Linked DNA regions of Homo sapiens: all the other regions are linked to region 1. Evidence: promoter capture Hi-C in 16 types of primary human blood cells and fetal thymus (Javierre and others, 2016). All regions are on one chromosome and are shown on one strand. Each heading gives the region's core, a stretch centred on a gene start or on the middle of the fragment in contact. The rest is flanking DNA. Distances are from core to core; before and after follow the strand shown.

Region 1 (3,826 bases), core at 1-2,500:
AAACCAAACAAAGCGCGGCCTGAGCGAGAGCCCAGGCGAGAAGGGAAGCCGCGGCTTTTCCTGCCGGCCGGGCCCGGCCCGGGCTGACACTGCGGCACCGGGGGACCCGCCTCCGCTCAGCTTGGGTCTCCCACCCCCAGGGCGCGCAGGCCGCCCCCGCCCGCCCGCCCGCCCGCCCGCCCCGGCCTCCCTTCCCGCGGTGCCCGGGAAGGCGGGCGGTTGGGAGGTAGCGCGGCCTTACCCCGCTCGCCGACGTTGTTCCGCTCCTGAGGCAGCGGCGGAGGCGGCGGTGGCGGCGGCGGAGGCTGCTGCTGCTGCTGCTGCTGCGGCGGCGGCGGAGGCTGCTGCTGGGGCGGCTGCTGCTGGGGCGGCTGCGGCGGCGGCTGCTGCGGGGGCTGCTGCTGCTGTTGCTGCACCGGGCGCGGCCGCGACACTCGCCTGGGTCTCCGGTTGGCGGCTCGGACGGAGTTCATTTGCCGGGCTGAGGTGGCGGCGTTGGCGGAGGGACACACACACGCACACGCACAGCGAGCTTCGGGGCAGGAGAAAGGGGTGGGGAGAGTGGGAGAGGGGGGAGGAAGGAGAGGGGGCGAGGGGAAGGGGAGACGCTGAGGGCGGAGGGGGCGAGCGGGACCCCGAGTCCGGAGAAAGGCCCGGGTAGACAGACGGAGACCGAGCGAGGCCGGCCGGGAGGGCCTGACGCACGGGGAAGGCCGAAGCCGCCGGGCGGGGCGGCCGCGAGGGACGAAGGCAGAAAGACGGGCAGACCGAGAGAAAGAAAGAAAGGGCGTCCGCCGCTTGGGGATCCCGAGGCGAAGCGCGGCGGCGGCGGCGGCGGCGGCTGAAGAGACAGATCCCGGTCCCGCCGACTCGCGAGCGGCGTCTCCGGCAGCGGGGGGAGTGGGCGGGCGGGTGAGGAAGGGAGAAAAAGAGAGGGAGAGAAGGGAGGGAGGGAGCAGGGGGCGCCCGGCTCTTTTTTTTCCCTCTTCCTCCCCCCCACACCCCCTGAAAGAGATTTCTGTGAGGAATTTTTCTCTCTTTCTTCGGTCTCTTCTCTCTCCTCCCCCCCTTCTCTCCTCGGCGAAGGGGAAATGAGTGTGAAGGGAGGAGATAGGGGGAAAAAGAGGCGTCGTCCTTCCTCCTCCTTAAAGGAACCTTTCCTCCTCCTCCTCGTCAGCCCTGTCGCCGCTGCTTCTGCTGCTGCTCCGTGGCAGGAGGAGCCATTGACACCGCCGGAGCCTCCACTCGCCCAGTCGGTCCCTCCCCGCCGCGGGGCTGGCCGGGGGCGCGGGGGAGGGCCGCGGGGCGGCGGGGGGAGGGGTGGGTGGGCGGGGAAAGGAGGGGCGGGGATTCCGTCCAGGCGGCCAATCTAAGGCGCCCGTACAACCTTCCGGCCAATGGGGCCTCCGCTCTTATCGCGAAGTCCCTTCAACGCCCTGTTTCCTCTCTCGGGTTTCCTCCCTCCCCCGCCTAGGAGGGGGAAAGAGGAAAGGGGGAGTGTGGCGGGGCGGGTGATAATGGGGAGGTATCAGGGCAAATAATAGAGCAGGGGGTGGGCGAAGAGAGCGCCAGTGCGTAGCGACGATTCTGGGAGAGGAGGTGCTCGGAGGAAAGGGCGGGGGTTGCTGATGTAATGGGGAGAAGTGATTAATCCTTCGGTTCGCCGTTTCAGCTTCCCCCCTACCCCAACCTTCACCCGATTTTTTTGAGCTGAAAAAAAAGTGGAACGAGGGAGCCAATCTTTGGTAACTCGGGTTTTCTGTGGTAGGTGGGTTCAAAATCTGAGCTGTAGGGAGCGCTAGAGATTTCGTGCCCTTTAGCCAAGCTGAGGGTATTTGCAAACCCTGAAGATTTCCGTCTCCGAGCTTTGGGCTTGGTAAGCGAAGTTTGGAGTCGGTGCCTAATCGTATATCATCTAAACCTTGAAAAGGCTTTGACCTTTGGCCAATTTGATTTGTTCTTTGAAGAAGTGTATACAATGTGTGGGAAAATAATATGTGAGAGGAGAGAAGTAAATGTGTTGATGTTGTGATTGTTTATGTGATTTAATTTTTAATTTTTTTTTTTTAGGTCCCACAAACTGCAAGGAAAAGAAAAACCCTCAACAGGAATTACCTTTATACCTGATGCCCCCAACATAATCTCTCTCCAAGGGAAACGTGTTTTTATTGCCTTGCGGCTGAAAATGTATTCTCGATTCTCCCCCTTCTCTCTTTTGTTGTGCATTTTTTGGATGTGGTAAAACTGGCAGTTTATCTGATTATCTGGTTTTCAGAACTTTGGGCGATGTCTCTGAGTGTCATCAGTTGCTCTCTAGGTTTGACATAGATAATTAAGCAACTACAAAGCGTGATAAAGCTTTTGAGAGGGAGGAAAATGTATTTTGGAAGGAGGGAGAGACGCAAAGAGGCGAGCCTGTGTGTTGAGTCCCAGACTTGGTGTGTGACTACAGGCAAAGTACTTCACCTTTCTAGATGTCAGCCCCGCCCCCCTCACCTCCCAAGTTTAAATAAGAACTTATTTTAGACTACATGATCCTGTTTTCAATTTTTAAGAGTTCTGTGATTTTGAGATGATCTCTCTTTAGTCCAGAAAAATAGAGAAACGTAGGTCTATGTTTGTTTCTCAAAAAAATATTTGAGGAGGACAGCTGTTACAAAACAGCTGGAGAACTCCAAATTTTTATGGTGGTTAGCTAGGTGCAAATGGGTACAATTTTAGGTTTGTTCAAATAAACATAGGGGAAAAGTAAAAGTACAGGAAAATTACGTTATACATATAAGTGTGTCCATCATTTCTGATTTTTCTAAAAATTTACTTTTTTATTTGACAAGTACTTTTTGGCTCCTTCCGTGTATGCATTAATATGTATATAAGGTGTTATGGGAAATACTAATAAAAGGAAAATATTGGGCATAAAGAGTTTGTATTTTGGTGTGGCAGAGTGGAAGTTTTACTTACATTAATTCAGATGTAAAGAAAATGTAGCTTGTTTATTTTCTGTAATTTTAACTTCAAGTCCCCACATCATCTCAATTTTTTAAAAAACATAACTGCTTTCACCTTTTATTTCCCCAACTCTCCTTCTAATATATTAATGGGAGGGGCGGGGTTTAGGGTTGTTATATGTGGTATAAGGGGTATCTTTTACATACCCTAGATTTCTAAGTTTATTGCAACAATTCTCTGACATATGGCAGTAAAATGCCTTGTTTTAGCAAAATTAGTATATTATGACAATTTCCTGATAGATGGTAGTAAAGTGTCTTGAGAAAGGAAGCACCTTTTTCAAATTCACAGAGTAACTGGTAGGGTGGTAGCATCCCTGAGGAATAGGGAGGTTTACAAGGGCATCTAAGCCACTAATGCCAGTCCTTATGTTGTCTTCTGGCGTGGAGTGGCTAGTATTGTCTGATGGCAGCCACTGTCGTTTATCATTTATTACTCATAAAACTGGTCATTTCTGTACTTTTGAGGCTGATTTCTTTTGCTGAAATCCATACATGAGCCATTTGCCCCATACACTATAACCTCTTTGTACTGACCCCGAGTCTCCACAGGTCCCTTGATCCTCATGGTTCTCACTGAGACACATGGGTACTTCTGGATTCCCCGAATACCACGTGTAGGCCTTGATGAGCCAGGAGCCTTGCTTTGGGCTTACTAGTTGTTGAGCCACTATCCAACAATGTTGCATTTTTCTCCTTATGTCATATTGAACATGCTGGCAGGCTGAAAGTAGAACTCCTAGACGTCTTAGTGTTTCACAGACATGTCCAGGGACGCAAACCACTATCTCCAACTTTCTTGGATTTCCCTATGTCTC
Region 2 (3,826 bases), core at 526-3,025, 480 kb after region 1:
GAGAAACCTGACAGACACTACTTCAGTCAGGCATGCTAGGTCAACATCAGCAATCATGACTGACGTTGATAGCACGTGTTCTTGATATTATATAGAAATGGACTTTCCCTCTGTGATCTGCCTCCCAAAACTCATAGCCTAATTTTTAAAAAGAAATCAGACAAATTCTAGTAGTTTGGCATCCTACAACAAGCCTGACCAGTATTCCTCAAAGCTGTCAAGATCACTGAAAACAATCAGAGTCTGAGAAACTTTCATAACCAAAAGGACCCTAAAGAGACACAGCAACTTAATGGGATGCATCCTGAATGGGGTCCTGGAATAGAAAAAATGGTATTAGTTTAAAAACTAAGAATACCTAAATAAAATATAAACTTGTGTTAATAATAATGTATCAATAGCAGTTCATTAATTGTAACAAATGTATCATACTAGTATAAGAGGTTAGCAGCAGGGAAAACTGTGCAGGGCAGAGGGTATATGGAAAGTATCTGTATTATTTGCTCAATTTTTTTAACTCTAAAATGACTCTTTAAAAAGTCCAGTAAAAAAAAAAAAAAACTGAAAGCAAACTCCAAGTTCACATGGCTTCACATGAATTACATTTATTATTTAAGGAAGAAATAATACCATTATACCCAAACTCCTTAAAAGCAATAAAAAAAAAGAAGACAAGAAAATATTTCATAACTTGCTTTATGAGGCTATAGGTTTAGCATTAACCTAATATTAAAACTGAGTAAAGACATTACCTGCTGGGTGCAGTGGCTCATGCCTGTGATCCCAGCACTTTGGGAGGTCGAGGTGGGTGGATTACTTGAGGTCAGGAGTTCAAGACTAGCCTGACAAATATGGCGAAACCCCGTCTCTACTAAAAATACAAATATTAGCCGGGAGTGGTGGCACGTGCCTGTAATCCTAGGTACTTGGGAGGCTGAGGCAGGAGAATCATTTGAACCTGGGAGGCAGAGGCTGCAGTGAGCCGAGATCACACCACTGCACTCTAGCCTGGGTGATAGAGTGAGACAGTCTCACAGGAAAAAAAAAAGACATTACCAAAAAACTACAGACCAATATTCGTCAAGAATATAGACACAAAAATTCTTAACAAAATATCATCAAATAAAATTCAGTAGTGTAAAAAAGAGACAATAACCAATGGGGCCGGCCCTAGGAGTGCAAGTTGGTTCAATACTAAAAATCATCATTATAATTCATCATATCAACAGAGGCAAGAAGAAGAATGTTGGGAACAGGCCCCCAAAACTGGCCATAAACAAAATCTCTGCAGCACTGTGACATGTTCGTGATGGCCATGACGCCCACACTGAAGGTTGTGGGTTTACTGGAATGAGGGCAAGGAACACCTGGCCCATCCAGGGCACAAAACCACTTAAAGGAGTTCCTGAACCGCAAAGAACAGAATGAGCGATCTGTGCCTTAAGGACATGTTCCTGCTGCAGATAACTAGCCAGACCCATCCCTTTGTTTTGGCCCATCCCTTTATTTCCCCTAAGAAATGCTTTTAGTTAATCTATAGAAACAATGCTTATCACTGGCTTGCTGTCAATAAATATGTGGGCAAATCTTTGTTTGGGGCTCTCAGCTCTGAAGGCTGTGAGACCCCTGATTTCCCACTCCACATGCTATATTTCTGTGTGTGTGTCTTTAATTCCTCTAGTGCTGCTGGGTTAGGGTCTCCCTGACTGAGCTGGTCTCGGCAAGTGGCGCCCATACGTAGGGCTCGAACCCAGGTTGAAGGGTCGCCAGAGCGACAGTTGGAGAACGTGAAACTAAGCTGGAGGACACTCGAGTACTCTTAAAGCAATTCCTGTGGTGAGTAAGAAGGGGAGCTCGGAAGCATCAAGGGGAGCTCGGAAGCATCAGGGTAACAATGGGACAAGTGTGGGCTCTGGTTCGTTCCACCTTGGAACCTTTTCACACTGATGATGAGGAGGAAGGAGAGTATAACGAAGTAACAGAGCAGGTTTGTTTGCCAGCTAAAGCTAAAGTGGCAAAGGAGGGAGAGGTTCATCCCTACCCTTCTGCACCCCCTCCTTATTTTGAAGAAAAAGAGTGGCCTGACCCTCCAGATCTTTCTTTTCCAGAGGACACTGGGCGAAAAGTAGTTGCCCCAGTGACTGTTCGAGCAGCACCTTGAGCGACCACTCTCAGTTCTACTCAGGCAGGAATCCAGCAAGCTAGAAGAGAGGGTGATTTAGAGGTTTGGCAGTTCCCTGTTAGAATACACCCCCCAGATCAACAGGGAAATATTAAAGCTACATTTGAGCCTTTTCCTTTTAAATTAGCTCGGTTACAGGAGTCTCTTAAAAAGGTGATTGCAGGCAGCATGGGGGCTCAGTGGCTCACGCCCCTAATCCCAGCACTTTGGGAGGCCGAGATGGGCGGATCACGAGGTCAGGAGATCAAGACCATCCTGGCTAACATGGTGAAAGCCCATCTCTACTAAAAATCCAAAAAAATTAGCCGGATGTGGTGGCAGGCGCCTGTAGTCCCAGCTACTGGGGAGGCTGAGACAGGAGAATGGTGTGAAACCAGGAGCTTGCAGTGAGCTGGGATCATGCCACTGCACTCCAGCCTGGGGAACAGAGTGAGACTCCGTCTCAAAAAAATAAAATAAAAAAAAGGTGATTGTAGATTTGGCTGCTCAGGATATAGTGTTGCGGTTATTAGCTTTCGACAATGCTAATCCTGATTGCCAGGCTGCTGTGTGACCTATTAGACGGAAAGCACATTTAGTTGATTATATCAAGGCCTGTGACGGTAGCGGAGGTAATCTGCATAAGGCCACTCTGCTAGCCCAGGCAATGGCAGGACTGAGAGTGGACAAAGGAAATACTCCATTTCCTGGAGCTTGTTTTAACTGTGGGAAGCATGGTCATGCTAAAAAAGAATGTAGAAAAAATCAGCAAGTCAGGCCACCAGATAGGGGAAAAAAGAAAACTGCTGAGCCTGAAATATGTCCAAAATGTAAAAAAGGAAAACATTGGGCTAGTCAGTGTCATTCTAAGTTTGATAAAGAAGGGAACCTGATTTTGGGAAATGCCATGAGGGGCCCGTCCCATGCCCTGTTCCAAACCGGGGCATTTCCGGCTCAGGCCATTTCCTCACCCCTGTACAATGTCTGTCCCCTGACACAGCCGGTAGTGCTGCAGTAGATTTATGCTACACAAAAGCAGTGAGCCTTCTGCCTGGGGAACCCCCACAAAAGGTCCCACCAGGAGTCTGTGGACCCTTGCCAGTGGGGACGATAGGATTACTTCTAGGAAGGTCTAGTTTGAATTTAAAAGGAGTACAAATACATACAGGAGTCATTTATTCAGATTACAATGGGGAAATTCAAATTGTGATATCTACTTCTGTTCCCTGGAAAGCAGAGCCAGGAGAGCGCATAGCACAGCTCCTGATTGTGCCATATGTGGGAATGGGGAAAAGTGAAATTAAATGAACAGGAGGATTTGGAAGCACAAATAAACAAGGCAAAGCAGCTTACTGGGTAAATCAAATTACTGATAAACGTCCTACCTGTGAAATAACTATTTATGGAAAGAAATTTAAAGGTTTGGTAGATACAGGAGCAGACATTTCAATCATTTCTCTACAGCACTGGCTGTCCACGTGGCCAATTCAATCCACTCAATGTAATATGGTTGGAGTTGGTAAAGCCCCTGAAGTATATCAAAGTAGTTATATTTTGTGTTGTGAAAGTCCCGATGGACAATCTGGGACTATTCAACCAATTATAACTTCTGTACCTATAAATTTATGGGGGAGAGATTTATTACAACAATGGGGAGCACAAGGT
Region 3 (3,826 bases), core at 839-3,338, 450 kb after region 1:
AAATATACAGGACAAGTTCATAAAAACATTTTAGGAATAATGAACGTTGCCTTTTCTCCCAATCTAGTCTTTACCACTTCTGTTAAGACAATTCTTTTTAAAGTTCACCTTTTAGTATATTCAAAATTTCTTCAAAACCTTTAGCAGTTCTCTACCAAGTAAGTTCAGAAGCCTTAGAGTTCTAAAACGCAAAATAATAAAATGAGAGAATGCTCATTTCCTGTTTCCGTAGCACAGAAGGCTATTTTGTTATAGGCAAATTTAGTTTTAAACAGTTATTATTTGTATTCTCTCATCTAAGCCCAATAATATAGGACCAAAGCTTTTAAGTGGAAAATTAGTTACAAATAAGTTTCTTTTTGCTGTAGACTTTAAAATGTAGATTAGCAAATACAGAGTTTTATCTCTTGTTCATGATAGTTCATGAACAGACCCAGTGAAAGGAAGTGCTGCCATGGTAACGTAAACCAGACTGTTACTTGAGACCATACTCAAGATACTTAACTGCCCTGAAACTGCACGTTTTCAATACCAGTTTTTCCAATTTGCTATTTCAAGGAAATAGCAACTCTACTGTGATCAAAACAATTTGCAGTCCCCTCACAATAGAATTTGAAAAGTAGACTTGAACTAAACAATTTCTAGGAGCGTAATCTCAGGAATTCCAAGGTAGAGCATGGCTAGCATTATTAAAATAATTGTCTTGGTCTGTGTATGAAAAGTAATGCTGCGTATCTTTTCTATATGAAACTGAATTGGCTTTGGGGCAAAAGATGTTGTAGGTGCTAACATTTTAATTCTTCCTTTTTTTTTTTTTGAGACAGCGTTTCACTCTGTCACCCAGGCTGGCCTCAGCCTCCTGAATAGCTGAGACTATAGGCGCGCACCACCACACCAGGCTAATTTTTTCTATTTTTGTAGAGACAGAGTTTTGCTATGTTGCTTAAGCTGCTCTTGAACTCCTGAGCACAAGCAATCACCTTCGCCGGCTTCCCAAAGTGCTAGGATTACAGACGTGAGCCACCGCACCTGGCCTGGTGCTAACATTTTTTTCCTTGTCATCAAAACACATTTATCATTTGGTCCAGGTGACTGAACATATAGCTAAGTTAAGAAGTTTCATTTAATCCAAAAATACATTTGTAAAACTTGTCTTTTATTGAAAAAAAAAAAAAAAAAAAGAAAATGTCAAATACTTTTTTAGTATAGTTAATGTGATATCTTGCTGCTAAACACCAGGAAAATGTTTCTCCTGATAATCCAGTGCATTTCTTTCTTTATGATAGTGTGATATGACAACCATGGTTTTTCTATTTATATAAATTGCCAGCATAGTAAAAAACTGCCTTACACTCAATTGCTACACCTTTTCACAGGCAAAAGGTTTTATTCTCTCCTAAATTAATTTTATCCCGTTTTTTTTTACCACCTAACTTTTGCCTTTTATTCAGAACTAATGTATTTTTTTCTTATTGTCGTTTTTTTTTCAAAATTCCCTCCTCGGTGGAAAGTAAAGGAGTAGGAACATACTATTATTCAACCAACATGCAGCAACCCTTACGTACGTCAGTTTCAGAATGGCCCCTTAATATTCACCTATTTTGCAGCTATGTCTCTTGCATATAAATCCTCTTATTTGAATCTCATTACAATTCAGTGAAGTGGCCTGCATTGTTGTTTTACTTTACGGGTAAAATGTAAATGAGAAGTCTGACTCTCAAAAATTAAATGATTTGCCCAATATCACATAGCCAGTCAATAAGTAGTGATCGGGACCTTGGTTTTTGAACCTATAGAACGGTGTTCTTTCATTTTGCCATTCTGCTATAAAAATTATGAAATGATATTCAGAGATAAAAGAGCGTCAATAATAGACTAGTAGTACCTTGAAAAAGAGTGTGGGAAATGGAAGGACTCTGGAGATCATCACATTAAATCTTAATAGCAATCATAATAGCTTATATCATAGAAGATTTGATACACGCAAAAAGGAGTATGAGAATGGGAAACAAGTAAATTTTGTTGTTATCTAAATAATTGTTAATGTAGTCGTAAAGGTAATTCAAATTTTAAGAAAGAGTTTTTGAAGTAGAAAAGGCATAATATAAAACCAGAAGCTAATAACATTTGAACCTCACTAATCTTGTGAATTAGAGGAAGTTTTGTACATCATAGGATGAATCCCTTTTAGTCACTACAGTGCACACATAGCAAGCTCACTTCAACCTTAGTTTCATACTCAAAAGGTGCTAGAGATTATTTACCCCTGCACATTTATTTAAAACATTTAGACGCTGACTGTTTATGTATAAAAGTTCCTAGTTATTCTTGTGCATTTTATTCTAGGTTAATGGAAAAGGTTCCTTATGGTGTGTTGATCCGGAATATAAACCCAATCTTATCCAGGCACTGAAGAAGCAACCTTTTTCTTCAGCATCTTCACAAAAGTAAGGATCTTCCATATAACTGTCAGTGGTGATTTATAGGATTTCACTGTGTGAGATGGAGAAACTTAAAGGTCCAGGGTATTATGTTTCTGTTTTATTGTATAAAGAAGTATTTATGTTTTATTTAGTTTTTAGTTTTTAGTTTTTGTTTTTGTTTTGTTTTGTGGACACAGTCTTACTCTGTCACCTAGGCTGGAGTGCAGTAGCGAGATCTCGGCTCACTGCAACCTCCCTCTCCTGGGTTCAGGTGATCCTCCCACCTCGGCCTCCCTAGTAGCTAGGACTACAGGCAAGCACCACCACTCCCAGCTAATCTTTGTCTTTTTAGTAGAGACACGGTTTCACCATGTTGGCCTGGGTGGTCTCTAACTCCTGACTTCAAGTGATCCTCCCACCTCTGCCTCCCAAAGTGCTGGGATTACAGGCGTGAGCCACCATCCTCGGCCTGTTTTTTCTTTTCTTTTCTTTTCTTTTCTTTTTTTAAGAAGTATTTATGGATAAGACATTAGCCTAAGTTAGTTTTCCTTATGGTCTAATTTGTGTTTCTAGAATACAGGAAATTGGTGACTTGAGAACATACACTCTGGGAAATATAGTCAATACTGAGTATAAGTAAACCCTAAAGAAAGTTGTAATATAATTTCAGTTACAAACAGGTCAGATCATTTTAATTGTCTGCAATACTAATGCTAACCTAAAAATGAAGGAAATTAAAAATACATTTAAAATTTTTTAACAAGATTATTAAGTTTGTCATTATAACATTTTATATACATATGTAGGTTTCTTTTTCTGTTTTAGGTTTTTTTCGTAGTACTTAATATTTGAAAAGTATGTTCAAGTCTAAAATTTTTAAATGTTTGGCAAATAAAATAATGCTTTGAACTTTGTTTTTATTTTTTCTGGTAAATATAGTTGTACTGTATTTGCTTATAATTTTCCTTGTCTTTGTTTTCAATCCCAGTAACCCCTGTTGATCTTCTAGCTTCCTCATTTTAAGTTAAATCGGAAAATAATATGACCTTCTTAAATCTGATTTTTGTTTCCTTTTTCTAAAGAAGACTTTAGAGTCTTCTCCAATTTATTATATACCTTCATTTGAATTGAAAATCCCAGATTTGGTTAAAATACTTTAAGGGTAGTTTATAATGGCTAACTTGTTTTTTGAAAAATTTAAAAAGATTTTTAATAAAGTAATAAATGGAAATTTTTAAACATGGAAAAAAGTAGAGAGAAAGTTATAATGAACTCCCAGCTGCAGCAATCATCAACGTTTCATATAGTGGTTAATTTGAATTCTTAAAGTATTGTTAGATAACTTGTAGAGGAGTGGTTGTAGCTGGAATACAGTAAATAGCTGGGAAGGCTAAAGTTGAAAT
Region 4 (3,826 bases), core at 1,327-3,826, 430 kb after region 1:
AGTGTGTACATAGTAGGTGTATATATTTATGGGGTACGTGAGATGTTTTGATACAGGTATGCAATGTGAAATAAGCACATCCTGGAAAATGGGGTATCCATCATTTCAAGCATTTATCCTTTGAGTTACAGATAATCTAATTACATTCTTTAAGTTATTTAAAAATATACAAATAAGTTATTATTGACTATAGTCACCCTATTGTGCTATCAAATAGTAGGTCTTATTCACTTTTTTTTTTTTTTGTACTCATTAACCACCCCCACCTCCCTCCCACTAATCCTCCACTACCTTTCCCAGCCTCTAGTAACTATCCTTCTACTCTTAGACGTTCATGATTTCAATTCATTTGATTTTTAGATTCTATGAATAAGTGAGAACATGCGACGTTTGTCTTTCTGTGTCTGGCTTATTTCACTTAACATGATCTCCAGTTCCATCCATGTTGTTGCATATGATTGGATCTCTTTTTTTTTTTTTTTTAAAGTGAGACGGAGTTGTCTCCCTTTGTTGCTTAGGCTGGTGTGTAGTGGTGTGATCTCAGCTCGCTGTAACCTCCACTTCCCGGGTTCAAGCAATTCTCTTGCCTCATCCTCCCAAAGTAGCTGGGACCACAGGTGCACACCACCATGCCCCACTAATTTTTGTGGGGTTTTTTTTTGGTACAGATGGGGTTTCACCATGTTGGCCAGGCTGGTTTTGAACTCCTGATCTCAAATGACCCGCCCACCTCTGCCTCCCAAAGTGCTGGGATTACAGGTGTGAGCCACCACGCCTGGCCTGATCTCATTCTTTTTCGTGTGTATATGCACCACATCCATTTCTTTCGTTGATGGACACTTAGGCTGCTGCCTGACTAATATTAATGGAAAGAAAGCTAGTATATAATTTCAAATAGACTTAAAGACAAAAAGAATTGATACATAATGGGAAATGGCTAATTTGGCAGGAATATATATGTTTTAAAGTTACATGCAATTAATAACCATAGCCACAAAATAAAGCAAAAAATTAACAGATGTACAAGGAAAAAATTGAAAAGTTTTTCCAGTATAGCAGGAGATTGTAATATATCTGCCTTAGTATTTGATATAGAAAGCAGACCCCAAAAAAAGATTAGTAGGAATACAGAAAATTTAAACAGTGCGATTAACAAGCTTCATCCAATGGACATATATTTCATCCATGCACCATAGAAACATCAAATGAATCATTATGAAAATTAATCATGTACTGGGCCATGAAACAAGTTTCAACAAATTTCAGAGAATTGATACCCTATACACTGTTATAATACCAACTCAGTTAAGTTAGAAATAGGTAACACAAAAAAACTTCCTTTATCACATGGAAACTAAAAAAAGTTTTCTCGATATCTCATCGATCAGAGAAGAAATGCTGGAAGTTGGCCTGTTCTTTAGTAGGAGATGTTAAATCATACCTCAGGTTTGCTTGCAGCAAACAAAAAACTGAGAAATGGCCCAGATAAAAGGCCTTGCATTCTTAACAGGTGAGAGTGTGCAGGGATGCTAAGGACTGATGGTGGATAGGTTCTCCTAACAGGAAGGATGCCATTTTTTTTTTTTTGAGACGGAATCTCGGAATCTTGCTCTGTCGCCCAGGCTGGAGTGCAGTGGCGCGATCTCAGCTCACTACAAGCTCCGCCTCCTGGGTTCACGCCATTCTCCTGCCTCAGCCTCCCCAGCAGCCGGGACCACAGCCGCTCGCCACCAGGCCCAGCTAATTTTCTGTATTTTTAGTAGAGGGGGTTTCACCGTGCTAGTCAGGATGGTCTCAATCTCCTGACCTCATGATCCGCCCGCCTCTGCCTCCCAAAGTGCTGAGATTACAGGCATGAGCCACCGCGCCTGGCCTGAAATTTTTAATAAATGGTGCTGGAACAATTTTATGTTTATATGTGAAAGATGAAATTGGATAAAAAATACATGTATACATTTTTGGTGAGTTGAAGATTTAAATGTAAAAGGCAAAAATTATAAAACAAACTGTAGACCATAAAGAAAAGGGTTAATAAATTCTACCATATGAAAGTAAAGAAATTTCTTACTAAAAGCAACCAATAAAGAGATTGAAAAGACAAGTCATCTACTGGGGAAAGATATTTGCATCACATATAAGTTATTAGTATCCAAACATTACAAATCATTAAGAAAACCCATAAAAAAATGGGCACAAGGCTTCAATAGATACTTTATGGAAGAATAAATCCAAATGGCATATGTATAGATATATATTCATAGCTATATGTTCATATATATCTATACATTCATATTCTATATATCCATATACAGATATATATGAATGAATAAAAAGGTCTTCTGCCCTGTTACTAGCCTGGGAAATGCAAATTAAAACTGCAAGGAGATGCAGTTTCAGAGTTGATATGGTCTGGCTCTGAGTCCCCACCCAGATCTCATCTTTAATTGTAATCCGAATTGTAATCCCCAAGTGTTGAGAAGGGGCCTTGTGGGAGGTGATTAGATCATGGGGGTGGTCCCTTCAAGCTGTTCTTGTGATAGTGAGTTCTCACAAGATCTGGTGGTTTTATAAGGGGCTTTTCCCCAGTTTGCTCAGCACTTCTCTCTCCTGCCACCATGTGAAGAAGGACATTTTTGCTTCCCCTTCTGCCATGATTGTAAGTTTCCTGAGGCCTCCCCAGCCATGCAAAACTATGAGCCAATTAAACCTCTTTCCATTATAAGTTACCCAGTCTCGGATATGTCCCTCTAGCAGTGTAGAAACGGACTAATACAGTAGTCATCAGATTGGCAAAAACAATTTTGGCAAGTACATGAAGCATTTGGTATATACACTCCTGGTTAGTGGTAACTGATTCAGCATTTTTTGGTAAGCAGTTTGTCATCAATTAAAGTTGAAGGCTATTCTGTGACCAAATAATTCTACTTCTTGACATATGTTCAACTTTTAGATGTATACTCAAGAGAAATTTCTGACACTTGTATACCAGGTGATATGAACAAAGACTTCTATAACAGTAGTACTTGTAATAGCCCCAAACATAAACAATTAAATGTTCCTTAAAAGTATAAGAAATTATTGAATATTCATAAAATGGAATACTAGTCTCTGTAAAAATGAATTACTGCTACAATAATGTTAATGAATTCGATGGGGGAAAAAACAAGTCTCAGAATGTCTTCCATATAATTTAATTTTATGTGATGTTTAAATGTGGAAGGCTAAGTAATGTTTAAGGATTCTAACATCTGGGAAAAGTATAAAGAAAAAACCTTTTGTTAACTCGGTCTTTAATCAGTTAAAAGTGTGGAAAAGTAAGTCAAAATTCTGATTGGTTAAATCAACATTTTGTGTTTAGTAGGTTTCTTAGTTATTTTGGGCAAAAATGGCTATCACTGTGACACATCTAATTCTCTGTAATGCAGCATATTATGTTTTAGGTAATGCTGAAAATTCTGTGGCTTTGTTTCCCTTTTCTTATGTAGTCTCTGAAGCATTTCTCTCTTACCAATGTTAATACCAACCTAAGCAAAAATGCTCTCCTATGACCTTTTGGGAAATGATCAGAGAATTCCAATACATAATTTTATATTTCTTATCCTAGAGTAGGATATCACTATAACATTGAACGTAATATGCAGATGTGCAAATCTCTGTTAGACACCTTAGGAGATGCATGAGCTGCACAACTGTGAAAAAAAAAATAGTACATTTAAATCCGAAGCCTTCTTCTCAAGATACCGCCATGGCAGGCACACAGTCAAGCTCTAGATGGGTTCCAGAGTGATTGTACTGGGTTGGTTTGAACTCTCCACTTTTATTTTTA
Region 5 (3,826 bases), core at 991-3,490, 420 kb after region 1:
TATTATTTCCTGGGACTCAAGGAGGTTCAGTCATTTGTCAGAGATTGCCTAAGTATGTTGGTGGCTGGTGGGTCAGTTTGACTTGAGAGACTTACTCTTTCACTTTTCTCTCCTTTTTTTTTTAACTTGCCCCAAAGCAATGAAGATACTGTTTCAGTTTTCTAGTACAGCATCTACTATATTTATTCATTCATTTAAACATTTAAATGTTCACTACATGTTATGGTCTGTAGTAGAGCATAAAAATGAATGTATTGAGTTCTGCCAACAAGGATTTATATTCTAGTGTAGTATTTCTTAAATGGGTGACTGAATTGGGGTGGGAAATTTTGACCAGCTTTTATTAAAAAACAATCTAGGCTGGGCACAGTGGCTCATGCCTGTAATCCCAGCACTTTGGGAGGCCAGGGTGGGCGGATCACGAGGTCAGGAGATCGAGACCGTCTGGCTAACACGGTGAAACCCCGTCTCTACTAAAAATACAAAAAAAATTAGGCGGGCGTGGTGGCGAGTGCCTGTAGTCCCAGCTACTCGGGAGGCTGAGGCAGGAGAATGGCCTGAACCCGGGAGGCAGAGCTTGCAGTGAGCCGAGATTGCCCCACTGCACTCCAGCCTGGGCGACAGAGCAACACTCCATCTCAAAAAAAAAATTTTAGTACATTTTATGTGGTAAGGGTAAAAGTATTATTTCATGAAAATTTTAGTACATTTTATGTGGTAAGGGTAAAAGTATTATTTAGTACATTTTATGTGGTAAGGGTAAAAGTATTATTTAGTACATTTTATGTGGTAAGGGTAAAAGTATTATTTCATGAAATTGTGACCAGCTTTTATTAAAAAAAAATCTAAAAAAATTTTAGTACATTATACATGGTAAGGGTAAAAGTATTATTTCATGAAATGTTTGTTTTAGTTAAATATGTATGTATATTGTGGGTCTCTATGAAAAAAATACATTTCTTATTGTGGGATAACATTGAAAGTGAGAACTACAGGTCTAGTGGCTGAGATAGAACTGTAAGCAAATAATTATACATAATTAGAATAGCAAGTAAGTTCCTTTTTTATTTTGAGATGGAGTCTTGCTTTGTTGCCCAGCCTGGAGCACAGTGGCGTGATCTCGGCTTATTGCAATCTCCGCCTTCGAGGTTCAAGCAATTCTTTCTCAGCCCCTGGAGTAGCTGGGACTACAGGAATGTGCCACCACGCCTAGCTAATTTTTTTGTATTTTTAGTAGAGATGGGGTTTCACCGTGTTGGCCAGGCTGGTCTCGAACTCCTGACCTCAGGTGATCTGCCTGCCCCGGTCTCCCAAAGTGCTGGTATTACAGGTGTGAGCCACTGTGCCTGGGCTAGAGGTAGATTTAAATTAATAGCAGCAGTTTATTTTCCTAAATTCTTTTTTTTTTAATTGTAAAGTGAAACAAATGCAGAAAACCACACAAAACAAATGTGTAACTTAGTGAATTATAAGGCTAGCACCTGTGTAACCCTGTCCTTTAAAAAGTAACCACTGTCCTGGGTTTTCTGAAAATGAATTAAGTTTTTGGTTTTATTACTCAAGTATGTGTCCCTAGATGCTATAGTTAAGCCTGTTTTCTTGCTCATGCTCACGCTCACGCGGATTCTTGCACTCCCCCCTCCTTTTTTTCTTTTTCATTAAGCTTGCTTTCTTTACACCTTCTGTTTCTCTAAGATTTTATCCAATACATTTTTTTCGTAATCCTTTAAGTCTTCATTTCTGAAATGATTTTTTCCCTTTTATTTTAAATTCTTTCTTGAGCTCTATCACCTCATGTCTGAGCTTTTCTAATTCTGATATATTTGATATATATATAATACAATATATATTTCTGATATATTTGATATATATAATACAATATATATATCTGATATAGGTATTTCTCATAATTTTTTTAAGTTTACTTTGAAATAGGAGTTCATTTTTATCTCTTTGAGCATCTCTTTCAGACTTGCTTTTATTGTTTATAGGGATGTTATTTTATTGTTTCTTTTTTTTTTTAGTTGTAACTTTGTGTGGGATTCAATCTCTTAAAAGTATGAATGCTTTCATTTATACTGTGCTAGGAATAAGATGCATGTAAGTAAATAATTGCATTATGAGACATATTCTTCTAAACATACATTCAAGGGTATTATGAGAACACAGAGTAGGAGCTTACTTTCCCCAAAGTGTAGGGATTGGATGAGGTGGACTTTAGTCATGATGGAGGTTTTTTATTGGTGTATCAATATTTTTAAATATTCTGTTTTTTTTTTATAACTGATATATTTTTGAGGGTACATGTGATATTTTGGTACATGTTTACAACGTGTAATGATCAAATTAAGATAATTAGAATATCTGTCACCTGAAACGTCATGGTAGTTCTGATTTTAGTTTTTGAGGAAACTCGATACCGTTTTTCATAATGGCTGTTACTTTACATTCCCACCAACAGTGTATGCGCATTCCCCCTTTCTCCACATCCTTGCCAGCATTGTTAATTTTTGTCTTTTTGTTAAATAGCTCTTCTGACTGGTGTAAGATGGTATCTCATTGTAGTTTTAATTTGCATTTATCTGATGATTAGTGATGTTGAGCATTTTTTTCATGTTGGTTGGCTGCCTTTATGTCTTGAAAAGTTACTGATCATGCTCTTTGCCCGCTTTTTGATAGAGTTGTGTTTTTCTTGTTGAGTTGTTTGAGTGCCTTGTAGGTTCTGGATATTAGTCGTTTGTCACATGTATAGTTTGCAAATATTTTCTCCCATTCCACATGTGGGTTCTCTTTATTGATTATTTCTTTTACTGTGCAGAAGCTTTTTAGCTGATTAAGGTCTCATTTGTCTGTTTTTGGTTTTGTTGCAGTTGCTTTTGAGTTCTTAGTCATAAATTCTTGTTCAGGCCAATGTTCAGAAGAGTTTTTTCTCGGTTTTCTTCTAGAATTTTTATAGTATAGTTTCAGGTCTTACATTTAAGTCTTTTCTGTAGCTAATTTTTGTATATGGTGAGAGATGGGTCCAGTTTCATTCTTCTGCATATGGCTATCCAATTTAGTAGTGCTTTTTATACAAATGAATTTACTGTTGACTTCCTTCAATTACTACTTTGAAATACTGTTCAGATGGAATTAAAATAATATTTTAAAAATTTTCTTTTGCTATACTATTGTCATATGTCATCAACTATCTCTTAAGTAGAGACCTGAAATTTAGAAAGTGAAAAGGTCACAAAGTAGAATGGAAAACATAGTATAACGCATAGTATTCTGTACGTGAATGACAAATTGCTCAGTAATTTTTTTTTTTTTTTTTTGTGACAGAGTTTCGCTCTGTCTCCCAGGCCTGGAGTACAGTGGCACAATCTTGCTCACTGCAACCTCCTCCTCCTGGGTTCAAGTGAGTCTCCTGCCCCAGCCTCCCAAGTAGCTGGGATTACAGGCACCTACCACTTTGCCTGGCTAATTTTTGTATTTTTAGTAGAGACGGGTTTTGCCATTTTGGCCAGGCAGGTCTCGAACTCCTGACCTCAAGTGATTTGCCTGCCTTGGCCTCCCAAAGTGCTTGGACCAGTAAATATTTTAATGAATATCATATTTCATCCTTCAAATTTTTTTTTGTTTCATGTAGTTTGATTAAAATGACTTCTTTGTTTAGTTAAAACAAAACTTGATGTGGTATGATTTGGGTATAATTTTCCCTTTGTACTTCTATTCAAATTGGCAGCAAGTTAGAGCCAGGTTGTGCTTGCTTTTGAAGTACTCTGCTTAGGGATATTGAGTCCATTGTTTTCTATTTTCTTTCTTTGGTTAACGATACTTTTGA
Region 6 (3,826 bases), core at 1-2,500, 340 kb after region 1:
CCCAGCAATTTTGAAAGCACCCAATTCCCTATTTTAAATGCTCTTCTGCCTATTTTAATAGCAGAGTGGTTTGTTTCCTGAACTGATACAATTGATAATAAAAATTTTCAAACAGAAACTGCAAACCTATTTTAGAATCATTAAAGTAATTCATTTTATTTGTATCTATCCTATACACTGAATGCTACTAAAATGAGTGTTAAGTGGTTTAAAAATGGAGAACTATCTAGGAGATTCTCTTCTGTTTGTACTAACTACTGGCACATTTAAAAAAATTACACATCAGCCTGGGCACGATGGCTCACACCTGTAATCCCAGCACTTTGGGTGGTCGAGGCAAGTGGGTCACTTGAGGACAGGAGTTCAAGACCAACCTGAGCAACATGGTGAAACCCCTGTCTCTACTAAAAATACGAAAATTAGCTGGGTGTGGTGGCATGTGCCTGTAGTCCCAGCTACTCGGAGGCTGAGGTGGGAGAATCACTTGAACCCTGGAGGCGGAATTTGCAGTGAGCCAAGATCATGCCACTGCACTCTAGCCTGGGTGACAGAGTGAGACCTTGTCTCAAATACAAAACAAAACAAACAAACAGAAACAAACAAACAAAAAACACACATCAAGTCATGGGCAGCATGTTTAACTTTATTTTTAAAGTTTATCCAGAATATAGAATGACTGAATGAGTAGCTATTAAGGATTATTTTCTATAAAGTAATATTTTTACTTAAAAAACTGACAAAAATGAACATGACTGGCAGAAGAACAGTGGCTTACTCTACTCTCTAAGAAATGCCTGGTGACATCAGTTAAAAGGTATGCCAGAGACTAACAGCTGGGTCACTCCAAGTTTCACTCTCTTTGACTCAGCATCCTGAAATGACTCTCAACAGGCTGGGAAAGCCATTAAAACAGCTCCTGGCCCATAGCAATAACAGGCTTTTTACCTTTCAATCCTGGTGATCCTCTGGGAGCTGATGACAATTCTGAATTTTGTCTCTTTTTACACTGTTTGCAATGTGAATTTGACAGTGAGTAAATGAATAAAAGGGAGTGAAACGTGGGAAATTTATCCTTTGAGTACCACTGAGCACTTGGTATTATATTTGCTTCTGAGGCAGCTTTTCATATTTACAGTTAATCCAGTGACATTTTTGGCTGTGCTTTTAGAAGAGAAAAATTGATGGCTAAGAGGGCAAATGACTGAGAAGTCACAGCCCTCTCTGCAAATGCAGACACGCAAATTTACAATTTTCTGGCAGACGACAAACAGCAACAAACATTCAAGCCTACATTTTCAGAGGTTTACTCTGTATTAACCAGGTCACCATACAGTGCAGAATAAGATAGAATTGCTTTGACTCTCAGGCCTTTTAAAGACTGGTTGGAGCCTTCTAATGCTTGACCATATGTGAATTATCCACTTGGTGGATTACTTGAAATTCAGCCAGCATAACCCCAAGTGAACTGCTCTGCCTAAGTTATATTTAGAAAACCACTCACTTATTTAAACATTAGACTACTCAAAAATTTATGGGCTGAATATATCCAAGATAAAGTATATAACTATATATATATAAACATTTCTAAAAGTAAAAGGATTTTTTTTTTGGTCCCCCAAAGTTTTGGAATTAAAATTATTTAGAGCTGGCAGGGTCCTTAAGACATTTTGTCCAAGAGTTTCATTTTATAGCTGAGAAAACAGACACGATGAGGTTTACTGACTTGCCAAGCAAAACAGTTCATTGTTAAATTAACATTTTTAAATCACAGCTTCCCTTCCATTATCCTGCACATAAGGAAGTTTTTGGAAATATTTTTAGAATTGTCTGTGATATGGAGGAAATAATCCAAGGCCACACCAAAGCTCCCTAAGAACAGAGTTGGACTCCACGGGTGATGGGCTGATATGCTGGGGTATGCAGTTGCGGGAAGAGCCTGCCAGGTGTTCCTTCACTTGTCCTTGTTAGCCCACACTACAAGAAGTCCTCAGAACCTGTCCTCACTTTCTTTTTATTTTGTTTTATAACTCACTCAGACTGCTTAATTGTCCTTATGCTATCTCTTTTCTGCAAGTAAACCTCAGTTGCCTTCTGTGAACTATGGAATTTTAGGGAGGAGTTGGACCCATGAGTACGGAGAGGCAACCCCACACACTAACAGAAAGTAAGCACCAGGGCTGCTGGAGAAGAGAGGAGAGTACAGTTCACAGTGTATATTTAATGCTGCTGAGCAGCTGGGCATCAGGGATTGTGAGACTTTACACCCCAGAAGTTGCTCAATAGTGGTCTGTGGGGCTCTGCTAGAAACCAGCAAGGGAGCCAGCAGAGAAAAGGGAGTGCAGCCGGTGAACAAATCCCAGAAGCTCATCTCAGGACTGCTGGCTACCTTTCAGGCTAATGACCTATAGCTGAGGGCTTGCATCTATTTGCAGATGTACTTAGATTTTAAAAGGAAGTCTGTACCACCTGATACACATTAGCATGGCTGCTATTTTTTTAAAAAAGAAAAAACAGAAAATAATTATTAGTGAGGACGTGGAGAAATTGTAGCCTTTGTGCACTGTTGTAGGAATGTAAAATAGTGCAGCCACTATAGAAAACAGTATGGCAGTTCCTCAAAAAATTAAAAATTGAACTATCATATAGTCAAGCTATTCTAATTCTTGATATACACCTAAAAGAATTGAAAGCAGGGACTTCAGCCTGGGCAACATGGCAAAACCCTGTCTCTACAAAAAATACAAACTTTAGCCGGGTGTGGTGGCATGCACTTGTAGTCCCAGCTATTTGGGAGGCTGAGGTAGGATGATTGCTTGAGTCCAGGAGGTCGAGGCTGCAGCGAACTGAGATCATGCCACTGCACTTCGTCCTGGGTGACAGAGTGAGACCCTGTCTCAGAAAAAAAAAAAAAAAAGAAAGAAAGAAAAGAAAAGCAGGGACTTGAACATATATTGGCACACTCATGTTCATAGCAATATTATTTACAATAGCCAAAAAGTGAAAACAACTTGTGTGCATTGACAGATAAACGTTTAAGCAAAATATGTACACACAATGAAGTATTATTCAGCCTTAAAAATGGATGAAATTCTGATACATGCTACCAAGTGGATGAACCTTGAAGACATTATGCCAGTCACAAAAAGACACGTATTTTATTATTCCACTGATAAAACGTACCTATAGTCAAAATCATAGATAGAAAGTTAAATCATAGTTTCCAGGGGCTGGGGAAAGGGGGAAATGAAGAGTTATTGCTTAACAGGTACAGAGTTTCAGTTTTGCAAGATGAAAAGTGTTCTGGTGGTGGATGGTTGCACAACAATGTGAATGTACTTAATACCACTGAGCTACACAGTTAAAAATAATTGGGGGGAGGGGGAAGGGATAGCTTTAGGAGATATACCTAATGCTAAATGACGAGTTAATGGGTGCAGCACACCAGCATGGCACATGTATACATATGTAACTAACCTACACATTGTGCATATGTACCCTAAAACTTAAAGTATAATAATAATAAAATAAAATAAAATAAATTAAAACTGTAAATTTTTATGTGCATTTTGCCACAATTTTTTTTGAGAAAAGGAAGTCTGCAGTATTCCTAAAGTGTATGTTAGCTGAAATTTGTTAAGTATTTGATTTTTTTTCATTGAAAGGAAAGCCATAGCCTATCTTTCATCATTCTTCCCTTAGTTCCTTCCTCTTTCCTTTCTTCCTTCATCCTTCCCTTCTTCCTGCCTTCAAACATCTACTTGATGTTTGCCAAACATTGTGGGAGGCCCCTGATAAAACATACCATGGTCGGGTGCTGTGGTTCACA
Region 7 (3,826 bases), core at 775-3,274, 300 kb after region 1:
CACAAACAACAGACCATTCAAGGCCATGAGAGAGGAAAGGCAGGAGAGGCTGCATGAATCTACAAAAGTGTCCACTGTTAATGGTTACAGCCCAGTGTTTAAATTCGGGCCACATTCCTGCTGGAGCTTCCAAAATATAGGGTGGACAGAAACAAAAAGACTCCAGTGTGCTTCGTGTAAGTCTATCTGGCTTTGGCCCTCTGCAGGACATTCTTGTTTGCTGCCTGCTGAAAGGGAAAGGAAAACTGACATTTGGTTCTCTCTCGAAGCAAAGCTCAAATCTCTTGGGGGTTAGATATGCTTCACAGGGCCATGGATTAAAGTTATGAGTATAGGTTCTATGCGAAACTGCACCTGTCCTACTGCCCAAGACCTCTTGGGCTACGGAAGGAACAGGAGGAGAAGGGAGACAAAAGGCAGTGAAGAAGAGAGAGAAAAGAGGGGGACCTTCCCTGACCCCAAAGAGGGAATGACATTTAAGTCACCCAATTTAATTCTGTTCAACGAATATTTGAATACTTTTTAGGAGGCAGGCTAGGATGTACCCAGATACAGAAACAAACACATGAATTTAAAAATCCACTATTTCTGCTTAGAATCAGAGAAAGTTAATACTGGAAAGGTCTTAAGTCATCCTGCTTTATATTATGGTCTTCTAATCAGAATAATAATTTTTTAACCCATAAGGGCATAGGTTAAAAAAAAGGAAAGAAAGAAACAGGAAATGAAAAGAACAAAAACTAGAAACACTGTCTCATTCCAAAAGAGTAATCTCAAATTCTGATATGATCATGGGACTGTTATGGGAATGTGTCATGATGTGTCACTGAGGGAAGACTCCTTGAGAATTACTGATCTAGTCTTGCAGAAGGACGAGCTGCTGACAAAAGTCCTCAAACACCAAGTTAAAGAAGGAAGGGGTTTATTTGGCTGGGGGCATCGGCAAGACTCCTGTCTCAAGAGCCGAGCTCCCCGAGTGAGCAATTCCTGTCCTTTTAAGGGCTCACAACTCTAAGGGGGTGCGGGTGAGAGGGTCGTGATCGACTGAGCAAGCAGGGGGTACGTGACTGGGGGCTGCATGCGCCGGTAATTAGATTGGAACAAAACAGGATAGGGATTTTCACAGTGCCTTTCTATACAATGTCTGTAATCTATAGATAACATAACCGATTAGGTCAGGGGTCGATCTTTAACTACCAGGCCCAGGGTGTGGCGCTAGGCTGTCTGCTTGTGGATTTCATTTCTGCCTTTTAGTTTTTACTTTTTCTTTCTTTGGAGGCAGAAATTGGGCATAAGACAATATGAGGGGTGGTCTCCTCACTTAGTCTCACCTAGGAACATAGAATAGAAGTTTAGGGAACAAAGTGGCAGGGCCAAGACCACTATGGCACTTAGCAGCAGAGAGAAGATTACAGCCCATGTCTTCTAATGCCCAACCCAGGACTCAGCCACTTGCACCACAGTGTTGCACCACTAAAGTTAACTGGGAAGATGCAAACCCCGAAAATCCTTAAATACATAATTGAGTATCTTAGATCTAGCTATCCTCACTGATATGTCGCCCATTCACTGCCAAGCTTTGGGCCCAACACTTACAGTCATCAGAGTTTGGATTTTGTTTGTAAACCAAAATTTCCCCTTCAGCTCTAAATGGAATTTTGCCTGGACCTGGGAGTCTTCAAAGGAATAGGAGGAAAAATTGTGGATAGAGTTAGATTGACAGCAAAGGGAAAAGAGGAAATCTTTCCTCTTAAGACCAAATCTGTGGTGCCTCAGCTTCTGTTCAGCGTGGAGGCAGGAGTGGCAGCTACCTAACTTGGTCTTTCGCATTCAAATATGCTACATTTAAATATGTTTGGGGGCTGACAGTGATAGGAAGACATTCCTATGGCCAAGTAGGACAGAGATCTGGGAGTGCTTCTATTTATGGAAGGTTTACTGGATGCATGTATCTGAAGGTAAAATGAACAATGCCTAGTCTGGATGGTCATTTGGGGTGAGATGGAAGGGAGATAAGAAAGGGATCAGGGAAAAATGAAAGTCATTCTGTGCATTGTGAGAGGTGCTAGCGGTCAGAAGTACTTTGCCATTCTCATTTGTCATCCAGTGCTGCTGACCCGCGCTTTGAAATGGCTTGGCTTCCCTAGAGATATTCTGAGCTGTAATTGCAGATTTCCATTTTAGTTTCTTGTTTTCTCACACTCTGCTCTAGACAATCAACTCAAAATCCTTCCTCAGGCAATGTGCAAAATGCCTTTGCAGAGTTGATGAAGGTTCTGTGGTGTGGCCCATGTGAATGTATCGATTTTTTTTTCTGCATGTAAATAGGAGTGGTTATGGCAAAGTGGTTATTAGCTACATTAGATCAATGATTTGGGCTGCTGGAGCTTGTTGACAAACCTTCTTTGATGATAACTTTTTTATAAATTATGTTAATTATGACTTTGCCTTGGACTGCAGGAATGGGACTGGAAGCTTTCTATTTTTTTCAGGCTTCAGTAGTAATTCTGCCTTCGTTTTTTTTTTTTTTTTTTTTTTTAACTTATGTTCCTGGCAATTAAGTGCTATCCCAAAACATAAAAACAATTTCCTCTTTTAAAAAATCATTATGCAAGAAGTGTCATGTAAAAGCTGCTGTTACTTAAAATACGATCTTGTAAAATAACTATAGCAAGTTCTCCTATTTATGAGACCAGCAAGGAGTTATTAAAAGTCGTAATAGAGAAAACTATCCTTATGGATTCTGTTTTCTTTTCTTTTTTTTCCCCTCATCATTCTGAAAAAAAAAAAGAAAAGAAAAGAAAAGAAAAGAAAAAAAGTGGAATCCTTCCCTGTGGGTTTTGGTTGTGTTTTTTTGAGACAGAGTCTCACCCTGTTGGCCAGGCTGGAGTGCAATGGCACAATACCTGCTCACTGCAAACTCTGCCTCCCGGGTTCAAGCGATTCTCCTGCCTCAGCCTCCTGAGTAGCTGGAATTACAGGCGCCCACCACCATGCCCGGCAAATTTTTGTATTTTTAGTAGAGACGGGGTTTTGTCATGTTGGCCAGGCTGGTCTCGAACCCCTGACCTTAGGTGATCCACCTGCCTCGGCCTCCCAAAGTGCTGGGATTACAGGCATGAGTCACCGCGCCTGGCCTGGATTATTTTTAACTGAAGAGGAGAAAAACAAACAAAAAGAAACAAATGTTTTGATAAGTTTGACTATGGTTGTTAAAATATGACCTATAGAAAAAATAGAAATAAAAGAATTATCACATGTTCTCCCCACACAATGAACAGTGAGCTTTCAGGGTTTACCTGCTTGAAGCTCCAGCTGTGGCTCTCAGCACATCTGCACCCTCAGCTAAGTGTCCTGATGCATCACCCTGCAGGTGTGCCCTGCTACCCATCCAGACTTCACCCTCCCAGGCTCTTGCCATCACTTTACTTCAGCTAGTCAGGATTAACTCTTCCTCCCTATGGGAAACAATACTGACCTTGGAGTCAGACTGACCTGGTTTAAATCTATTAGGTAGAACTAAATAAAATTGCTGTTTTTAATACACCAATGATGGTTAAATATTGGCAATTTCATGCCACTCAACCTAACACCACCTTCTCATTATCATGTTCTCTAAGATAAGATATTTTAAATGCTTTACTTATTCCATGACACAAGTTAGTCACCATTTGCTGTAGACATGCTATGAATTATAAGAGGCTGCAGTGGCATTTCATTCCAGGTTAGTTTAACAAAAAAAATTTTTTGACTCCTCCTTTTTACCACAGGCACTGCTTTTGTGCTGAATACCTGGGTGAGGGGAGGTCCCAGTTCAGTAGGGGCA

What was found. Contacts are between HindIII fragments. The CHiCAGO score rates a contact against its expected background, and 5 or more counts as called.
Region 2: a contact is called between a fragment that was not itself captured here and the fragment with the promoter of FBXO11 in region 1, in 4 of 17 cell types (naive CD8 T cells, total CD4 T cells, M2 macrophages and 1 more). The highest score is 5.7, in naive CD8 T cells.
Region 3: a contact is called between a fragment that was not itself captured here and the fragment with the promoter of FBXO11 in region 1, in 14 of 17 cell types (naive CD4 T cells, naive CD8 T cells, total CD8 T cells and 11 more). The highest score is 16.3, in naive CD4 T cells.
Region 4: a contact is called between a fragment that was not itself captured here and the fragment with the promoter of FBXO11 in region 1, in 16 of 17 cell types (activated CD4 T cells, naive CD4 T cells, total CD4 T cells and 13 more). The highest score is 18.9, in activated CD4 T cells.
Region 5: a fragment that was not itself captured here is called in contact with the fragment with the promoter of FBXO11 in region 1 in 15 of 17 cell types (total CD4 T cells, activated CD4 T cells, total CD8 T cells and 12 more); the score reaches 19.0 in total CD4 T cells.
Region 6: a contact is called between a fragment that was not itself captured here and the fragment with the promoter of FBXO11 in region 1, in 3 of 17 cell types (monocytes, neutrophils and M2 macrophages). The highest score is 5.2, in monocytes.
Region 7: a contact is called between a fragment that was not itself captured here and the fragment with the promoter of FBXO11 in region 1, in 2 of 17 cell types (M1 macrophages and M0 macrophages). The highest score is 5.9, in M1 macrophages.

What each region holds. Positions count from the first base shown.
Region 1 is chr2:47,905,248-47,909,073 of GRCh38, forward strand. It overlaps FBXO11 (F-box protein 11), which reads right to left and starts at 1,251. Exons shown (of 23, transcript NM_001190274.2): 1 at 242-1,251. The coding sequence starts at 473. LOC100506235 (a long non-coding RNA gene) reads left to right here and starts at 303. Exons shown (of 2, transcript NR_187636.1): 1 at 303-552; 2 at 2,071-2,920. RefSeq lists silencers at 24-73, 84-203, 564-753, 1,244-1,343 and an enhancer at 1,413-2,197. The HindIII fragment of the contact is 3,894 bases long and covers 1-2,356 here.
Region 2 is chr2:48,383,297-48,387,122 of GRCh38, forward strand. No RefSeq gene overlaps it. Among named protein-coding and RNA genes, the nearest start is that of PPP1R21, 56 kb to the right of the region's middle. The HindIII fragment of the contact is 6,804 bases long and covers 1-3,826 here.
Region 3 is chr2:48,356,701-48,360,526 of GRCh38, forward strand. It overlaps FOXN2 (forkhead box N2), which reads left to right. Exons shown (of 7, transcript NM_002158.4): 4 at 2,347-2,447. Among named protein-coding and RNA genes, the nearest start is that of FOXN2, 44 kb to the left of the region's middle. The HindIII fragment of the contact is 3,537 bases long and covers 321-3,826 here.
Region 4 is chr2:48,336,825-48,340,650 of GRCh38, forward strand. The region is part of intron 2 of FOXN2 (forkhead box N2); the gene reads left to right. Among named protein-coding and RNA genes, the nearest start is that of FOXN2, 24 kb to the left of the region's middle. The HindIII fragment of the contact is 2,843 bases long and covers 1,156-3,826 here.
Region 5 is chr2:48,320,896-48,324,721 of GRCh38, forward strand. The region is part of intron 1 of FOXN2 (forkhead box N2); the gene reads left to right. Among named protein-coding and RNA genes, the nearest start is that of FOXN2, 8.1 kb to the left of the region's middle. The HindIII fragment of the contact is 1,158 bases long and covers 1,662-2,819 here.
Region 6 is chr2:48,247,898-48,251,723 of GRCh38, forward strand. No RefSeq gene overlaps it. Among named protein-coding and RNA genes, the nearest start is that of FOXN2, 65 kb to the right of the region's middle. The HindIII fragment of the contact is 6,486 bases long and covers 1-3,826 here.
Region 7 is chr2:48,205,441-48,209,266 of GRCh38, forward strand. No RefSeq gene overlaps it. Among named protein-coding and RNA genes, the nearest start is that of FOXN2, 110 kb to the right of the region's middle. The HindIII fragment of the contact is 898 bases long and covers 1,576-2,473 here.